Regions from separate parts of the Homo sapiens genome. Here region 1 is linked to region 2. The links are contacts of gene promoters, found by promoter capture Hi-C in human tissues and cell types (Jung and others, 2019). All regions are on one chromosome and are shown on one strand. The core of a region is centred on a gene start or on the middle of the fragment in contact, and the rest is flanking DNA. Distances in the headings are between cores, read along the strand shown.

Evidence for each region. Contacts are between HindIII fragments. The study calls those that stand out against the background at their distance.
Region 1: a contact is called between a fragment that was not itself captured here and the fragment with the promoter of BHMT2 in region 2, in 2 of the 25 tissues and cell types used here (mesendoderm cells and thymus).

The regions. Positions count from the first base shown.
Region 1 is chr5:78,910,756-78,914,667 of GRCh38, forward strand. All of the region lies in intron 4 of ARSB (arylsulfatase B), which reads right to left. Among named protein-coding and RNA genes, the nearest start is that of ARSB, 73 kb to the right of the region's middle. The HindIII fragment of the contact is 5,848 bases long and covers 1-3,912 here.
Region 2 is chr5:79,066,772-79,071,108 of GRCh38, forward strand. BHMT2 (betaine--homocysteine S-methyltransferase 2) reads left to right here and starts at 2,996. Exons shown (of 8, transcript NM_017614.5): 1 at 2,996-3,044. The coding sequence starts at 3,012. It overlaps DMGDH (dimethylglycine dehydrogenase), which reads right to left and starts at 2,903. Exons shown (of 16, transcript NM_013391.3): 1 at 2,749-2,903. The coding sequence starts at 2,849. The HindIII fragment of the contact is 19,729 bases long and covers 1-4,337 here.

The sequences.
Region 1 (3,912 bases), core at 671-3,170, 160 kb before region 2:
AATCTCTCTAGAACAGCTCTCAAGCAATAGTGTGTCGAATCACCTAGAAGTCTTGTGAAAACAGACTGCTGGGAACCATCTCCAGAGCTTCTGGTCCAGAAAGGGGCCTGAGAATTTGCCTTTCTAACAAGTTTCCAGGTGATAGTGATATTGCTGCTCCTGGGACCATACTTAGAGAACTATTGCTCCAGAAAGAGATTTAATGGCTAATACAATAAAGTCAAGTGATCTTACTCTGTATTTTTGTTGTTGTTGTTCTTTTAAATCAACAAAAGTGATTCAAGTGTCAAGTGTGGTTGAATGGTGAGAATGAAAAAATAAGCAAAAAACGAAGGGGTATTGAATCAGTGCAGAATAGTCAGAAGTCACACACAGAGAAAATGGATGTATTTTACCTTTGGTGAGGAGTAAATTATAAAAGGACTGTAGCTACTTTCTGAAAGGTAAAATTGTCCTGACTCAAGGATGAAAAGGTATGTCAAAGGGGAATGTTTTATAATAATGAGTCCCTGGGTCTAGACCTGATACCAGTGGTTCTCATCCTGGCTACATTATAGAATTACTTGGGCACACTTTGGGAGGCCAACGCAGATGGATCATCTGAGGTCAGGAGTTTGAGACCAGCCTGGCCAACATGGTGAAACCCCGTCTCTACTAAAAATACAAAAATTAGCCGGGTGTGGTGGTGCACGCCTGTAATTCCAGCTACTCAGGAGGCTGAGGCACTAGAATCGCTTGAAACCAGGAGGCGGAGGTTGCAGTGAGCTCAGATCGCACAACTGCACTCCAGCCTGGGGAACAGAGTGAGACTCCCTCTAAAAAAAAAAAAAAAAAAAAAAAAAAAAAAAAAAAAAAAGAATAACTTGGGCAATTAGAAACTTGAAAGGGGGCTTTCCGGGTGATTTCCAAGTACAGAGAAGATTATGAACCTGCCTACAAGGTGTTCTACTCTGCAGAAAAGATGAAGTGTTGAATCACAAAGAGACGAGAGACACAGCTTTCTATGGATGGTGATTTTAATTCCCATGACTGGACCACAGAATCTCAATACAAAGACAATGAGGTCAAGATAGATTAAATGATATGCAAGAGGCTGTACAGCTAGTTAGGGGCAAATCCACTATTAAACCTCTTTTCCTGAAGCCCATCCAAATTTCTGTCTACCATATTATTTGACTGAATTTGCAATAATAATTTTAAAAATAGAAAAAAGGTGGTATTTGGGGAGAATCTAAAATAGAGATCTCAGTACACAACAGTAAGGTCAATTATCACATTGGAGATTCCAGTGTTTTCAATCAAAATATCCACTATAAGAAACTAAGAAGTCAACACAGGCTTTCATCAATTCTGAAACTACCTCTAATGTAAACAGAGCTTTCACTATCTACAAGCCAAGTGGTTCCAGTGAGGTTGGTTACTGACGTTATTGTAGTACACAAAAGCCATGGGAAATTGAAGCATAAGGAAAAAGAGAGAAGATGGCCTACAGTGATGTTGTCTGGCAACCTTAAGAGATCACAGGCAGGCTCTTCTCCAGCAAGCTGTTTCTCATACTCCATCAACGATATCAACATATTGCACTGGGAGAGGTTTGCCAGAAGGAAAGTGAGGTCATGGAGTGATTTGGTGAAGCCCACAGCTCGTCTGTAACTCAGCCTACTTTATGGGACTCAAAGTGAATTAAAACTACATTTTAAAAGCTGTGTCTTCCACCTGGTTCTCCTCACTGTTTTTGGCTAGCAGGAAAAGGGCCTGTCAGTTTTATCTGTAGGAGGTAAAAAGGAACAGCACATTTCAGGGAAAAGCAAATAAACATATTTGCTGCGGTGGTTTCAGGTTTACCAATGCAGCAGGTGGGTCAGGAAGCACAGCACTGATCCCAATCACTGCAACATTAACATTTTGCTCAACCAAACATGATGTCACATGGCCCATGAGAAAGCATGTTTTGAGCTCATAATATGAAATAGAGGTCAGACAGGAGCTTCTCCCCCATGTGACCAACGCATCTACATTTTACAGGAATTTCTTCCTCTTGGGATCAATTCACAATACCTCTATCCATTTCCATGTCTTGATAAAAACCAAATAGAAAATCAGAAATTATTTTTAAAGCAGCTTTGCTGAAAGAATATTCAAGGCATTAGAAAGAAAGAATCAATATATCATTTTGATCACTTAAAAGCTTTTTTTCATGGTTACTCAAAACCCACGCAGAGCTAGGAGATAGGGCTCATTAAATCAGAGGGATTCTGGAAGACCATTTCCTGGTCAGCTGGAGCAATGTTGCCTGCACCAGTCCTATCCCTAACAGCCAAAAACTGTGATGAGAACCAGGCTTTTAAAATGTAGTTTTAATTCGCTTTTTTTTTTTTTTTCTTTTGTTGAGACAGAGTCTCGCTGTCGCCCAGGCTGGAGTGCAGTGGCGCGATCTCCGCTCACTGCAGGCTCCGCCTCCCAGGTTCACGCCATTCTCCTGCCTCAGCCTCCCAAGTAGCTGGGACTACAGGCGCCCGCCACCTCGCCCGGCTAATTTTTTGTGTTTTTAGTAGAGACGGGGTTTCACCGTGTTAGCCAGGATGGTCTCGATCTCCTGACCTCGTGATCCGCCCGCCTCAGCCTCTCAAAGTGCTTGGGATTACAGGCGTGAGCCACCGCGCCCGGCTTAATTCGCTTTTGAGTTTCATAAAGTAGGCCAAGTTACAGACAAATGCAGCAGTGTGAGGTAGACTTTCTATTTTTCCTATCCTGTTGTGTGATGGAACTTACTTATTTCTTTTGATTCTCAGGTTTCTCATGCTATAATTAAACACAAATGTGGCTCCTATCATTTTATTTTACAAAAGTGAGTTAGAGCCTCTTAATCCATATTTCAATATAGGCTCAGTGTTACATATTTGTGTTTGGAGCTGAAATCCACAGACCTGCCAGCTTAGTGCATCACAATTATTCTCTGCTACTATGTGTACATGTTTATACCAAAGTATAAAGGTACCCAAGATTTCAGCTGGGGGAAAAAAAATTTCTTTGCTAGCTGTAGTCACCTCAATAATGATTTCTTAAGATGACTGCTATTGTTAAAACTCATGTTTTTAAAAAAATTTTTAGTGTCAGAAAAATTTTCACTATAAAAGGTTAAATATTTACCTTAGGAGTAGAATAATAATAATTCACATTTTCCTCTTTATACCTTTCAATACCATGATTTTTTTTTTTTTTTTTTAGACAAGATACCACTTTATCACCCAGGCAGGAGTGCGGTGGTGCAATCATAGTACGTTGTAACCTCAAACTCCTGGGCTCAAGTCATCTTCTCACCTCAGCCTTCTGAGTAGCTGGGATTACAGATATGTGCCACCACACCCAGCTAATATTTAAAACTTTTTTTTCGAGACAGGGTCTCACTATGTTGCTCAGGCTGGTCTCAAATTCCTGGCCTCAAGTAATCTTCCTGCCTTGGCCTCCCAAAGTGCTGGGATTACAAGCATGAACCACTGTGCCCAGCAGCCACATATTAATATTTTTTATCAGAAACATTATCAAATTTTTAATTAAAATTAATGAACAAATAATAAGGATTTCTTTCAAAAGCTGACTTTAAATCTAAAATCATGTGGTTTATTATACAATAAAGTCTAATCTGGTAATCCAAAAGTTAGAAAGTATTATTTTAAATATTAATTTACAAAGAAGAAAGAAATGAACTAGGAAGTACTACCTTGTTTTACAGAGAAAAGTAACATTTCAGAGTCTATTATTTAACAATATAAAAGAAAACAAGCCCTTAATGTGACCACCAATCCTTCTCAATGCCACACCTTGTTGGACAGAATGGCCCACGTATCAGAATGGAGCAGCCCAACAAATACTCAGAGCCATCAGATGATGCCAAGGATACCTCATTATTCG
Region 2 (4,337 bases), core at 1,746-4,245:
TCTGTCTGATGACTTGCTTAAGGTGGTGTCTGTCTGATTTGTCTAGTAAAGCTACCATTTTTTCCTTTGTATAAGTAATAATGTGAAGTGTTACTTTGAGACCATGTAAATATCCTGGTCCTTATCAAACTTTTACTGAGTGGCTTTAACATCTATTGATTATTTCCTAACCCCATCATTCCTATTATATTTAATAGTTGGCATTCTACTGTAAGGAAGTAATTTTCTTTCACCCTTGTTTGTTGGTTGTTTATATTAACATGAATTTATGGATATTTATTGTTTTCAGTGGTTTCTAATCCATTACTAGTCATCATTTATTTGAATACCAAATTGTCCTAGATTTGGCCAGCAGGAGGTTCTTTCAGTTGACTCCTGTATGCTTTTGACATGGCTACATAATTCTTAGAGCATGTCCTTATTTCCTGGTGCCACAACATGTTTCAGCAGTTTTGTTTCACCGGTTTTTAGATGACTATTAATGTCTCTTTGTATGCTGTGTGAGAAAAAAATAATGTACATATGACCCAACTACTTTGGACGGAAATCCATTTTTAAACAGACTGGGCATATCTTGTACTTTAGTTGAAACCATTATAGTGGTGACAAAAATAATAATCTTAAAGGTTCTTTTTTGTGTGTTCAAAAGAAAGAATTATTTCTTTCAGGACAGTGGTCAGTTGAAACAACAACAACAAAAGAGAACTTAAGATCAGGAAACCTGGGTTTGAGTCCCCAATCCAACTGAACAGCTATTTTAGAGAAATTTACACAAGGGTCTCAAAGTTTTCTCATTTGCAAAACGGAGCTGTGAAGGTTCTGTTTGGCAACATATGATAAAGCATTATCAAATATATAGTATTTCCTCGGCCCAGCATGCCATAATAGGTTTCAGACTAGGTATAGTGTTTTTGATTATGTGGATAACTATCTTAAAATCCTTCTGAATGTAGTCGAGGATGTTTATAAGAGTATTTGAAATAAAACTTAGGAGCCATGCAAAAAACCCAGGTCAGTTATCTTCTGTATTAGAAATGATAAGCACAAACTGTATGCTTGTTCAACTGCTTTCCAAAATAAAACATTTTTTGATAGTTTGAAATTGGGTATATAAAGAATATGCAATTGAAATAACTCAACTTTTGGGTGTTTTTGTTTTTGTTTGTGAGATGGAATCCCTGTCGCCCAGGCTGGAGTGCAGTGGTGCAATCTCGGTTCTCACTGCAGTCTCCGCCTCCCAGGTTCAAGCGATTCTCCCGCCTCAGCCTCCCAAGCAGCTTGGACTACAGGTGCACACCATGACACCCAGTTAATTTTTGCATTTTTATTAGAGACAGAGTTTCACCATGTTGATCAGGCTGGTCTCAAACTCCTGGCCTCAAGTAATCTGCCCACCTCAGCTTCCCAAAGTGCTGAGATTACAGGCATGAGCCACCACACTCAGCCAAAATATGAATTTTTTGGATAGTCTTGAAATTTGTATCTTATTTATCTAATCAGTTTGTTTGTTAAATTTCCATTTTATTTTGCACTGGATTAAAAACATCATTATTATAAATATTTTTGCATTGCTTTACAATTTACAAAGCACTTTCACATGCATTCTCTTATTTAATATTCACAGCAATCCTGTGAGTTATATAGAGCAAAATTAGTATCCTCATTTTATAGATGAGGAAACTGAACCTCAGAAGTGTAAGGTCACATTCTGTGTAACAGATGGCGCAGGAACTGTGAGTTGGTGGCTACTGCATTCCCAGTACTGGAGACAAACCTAGCACATCACAACACCCAGTAAATATTTGTTGAATGGATAGATGGAACTCAAAAGCAGGTCTTCTGATTCCAGAATTTCAGGTCATAGGACATAAAATAAAATTCGAATCAACTCATAATAATGTTGAGTGATGCTGATAAACAAGCCTTTCCTGGCAACCAGGAATAATCTACAAATATAAGAAGTCGAAAGATGTTCAGCATTGCTCATATTTAAATACAGACCAATCAAAACAAGGACATGCCATTTTTACCTATCAGATTTAGCAAAGATAACAAAATGGGCTATTCTGGGAACCAGGGAAGATGTGGGAAACAGACACACACTGGTGTGCCGCATGCAAACTCTTGCCACCCACTTGGAGAATGTGTTGCTGTCTTTCAATCTTTCAGATGCACGTAACCTTTTCCCTAACAAGTTCACCTTTAAAAACTGTTGCTACCGACTCCCATATGTACTCAAAGATAGATGCCTAAGAATTTTCACATGCACGTTATTTGCAGTAATAAACAACCAAAAACCATTTAAATGTTAATGAATAGACTAACGATAGTGTAGAATATTGACAGGATGGAAAACTATGCAGCCATTAAAAGGAACAAGGCAAGTCAGTGTGTGCTGATATGGAACAATCTCCAAGATATATTGATAATTGTAAAAAGCAAGATGTCAAAAAGCCAAAGGAAAACCTATACTGACCTGTGTTTGCCTATGCGTAGACTGTCTCTGGTTAGATTCAGAAGACACTATTAACAATTGTTCACTGGCCAAGGGGATTGGGGCAGGAGAGACTTTACACGGGGAACCTTTGGATACTGTTTCACTTTATAATTAAAAGATAATTCGAGAAGATATATCAAGGCCTATTTCTTGGAGGCCAGAGCGCTCCTAACCCCTGAGCCTGCCTCAGCCTCTGGCTCCCACCCCCGCAGCCGCCCCGTCGCCTCTGAGCAGGACGGGGCCCCACTCACCCTTCCCGGCCGCAGACAGAGCGCGGGCGCCCGGGGGAGCCCTGCAGCGGGCAGCTCCGCAGCAGGAGGCCCCGCAGCAGCTGCGCGCCGGGACGGAGCATGACTAGGCCGAGGCCGAGGGCGCAGGCGCCTGCTCCGAGGCCAGCGGGCAGCCTGAGGCCGCGGGGCCGGCGGGGCGGGGGTCGGATCCTCCCCCCGGGCTGGGGGCGGGCTCCTAGACGGCCGCGCGCCCGGGAACCCGGCGCCCACAGAGCCGCGGCACCATGGCACCTGCTGGACGCCCGGGGGCCAAGAAGGTGAGTTTCGTCCCCTCGATCCTCGCGGAGCTCCTGGCCGCTGGGCTGCGAGCGACTCCGTTCACACCCGGCGTCCATCCCTAGCCAAGCCCTGGGGCCTCGGCAAAACACTTGGACGGGATGGCCCTGAGCCTCAATTTTCCCCTGTCACGGGTTGGTTAGCGTTTATGGAGCCCTTACTCGGTGCCTGGCGCTGCACAGAGTGCTGTGCTCAAGTTATCTCCTCATCTTCACAATTATCCCCATTTCACAGGTGAGGAAACTGAGGCTCGGCGAGTCAGGCGACTAGCTCAGGGTCACGGGTCCAGCCCCGCGGGGAGCGAGGATCAGAAGTCTAGCTTTCGGACGCATGTCGCGCACACATTTTCTTCCCTCAACCGACCCTCGCCCGCAGCTCTTTGGGCTAATCCGTCCGGGAACTCTTCGGACTGTCCCCTCGCGTTTTGGAAAAGTCAGCAGCCTGGCCAAGCAGCCTGGCCTTGCGAGTCGCCGGCTGGTCTGAAACTAGTCCTGGGCAAGGACGCCCCCAGAGCTGCGGTGCAGGGTGGAGGGTAGGTGGGATTCGCTAGCACCCCTCAACCTCCTCTCACCCGGTGGTCCCCAGCTCCTGGCCCCTTTCCTGGTCTGGTCACCAGATGTTGGCTTTATGCCCAGCCATTTCTACGTCGAGTATGTGTGGGGGTGGGATGAAGGAGTGACTAAGCAAAATTAGGAAGGGCATGAGCTTGGACGAAAGACATCCCCAGGACCCTTCAGAGACCCCCACCCGCTCCAGCCCTGTCATTCAGAATGGGAGGAAGGGAGGAGGGGCAGTTTATGCGTGGAAATGTGCACCACCGAGCTATTTATACTAAAAAGTTAGAAACGACCAAGATACTCTGCAATACGGGATTCTAAATAAATTAAGGTTCATCTACTTAAGTTATTAGACAGTTAAATAACTTAGTATGAGAACCAGCTAAGTGCCTTGGCAATGTTAAGTTGCAAAAGGAAATATATCACAAACTGATCCCAACCATATACAAATATTTATATACACACTGTAAGGAAGGACACAATAATGGTAATAGTTACACAAGATGTGGAATATTGGTTTAAAAAGCATGTTTTAGGATATTTTTTCAGGTTATAAAAGCAAAATGTGAGCATTGAAAGAATACAGTTAATAAAAATAATCAAAGAACATTGTGCTTTTTTCTCTCAACTTTCTCTAATGCTATGTTCATCTTTACAGTTCATATTTTTAAACGTTTTTAAAATGCCCTGTTTTTGTTCAGTGTCTTTGGGGCCTCT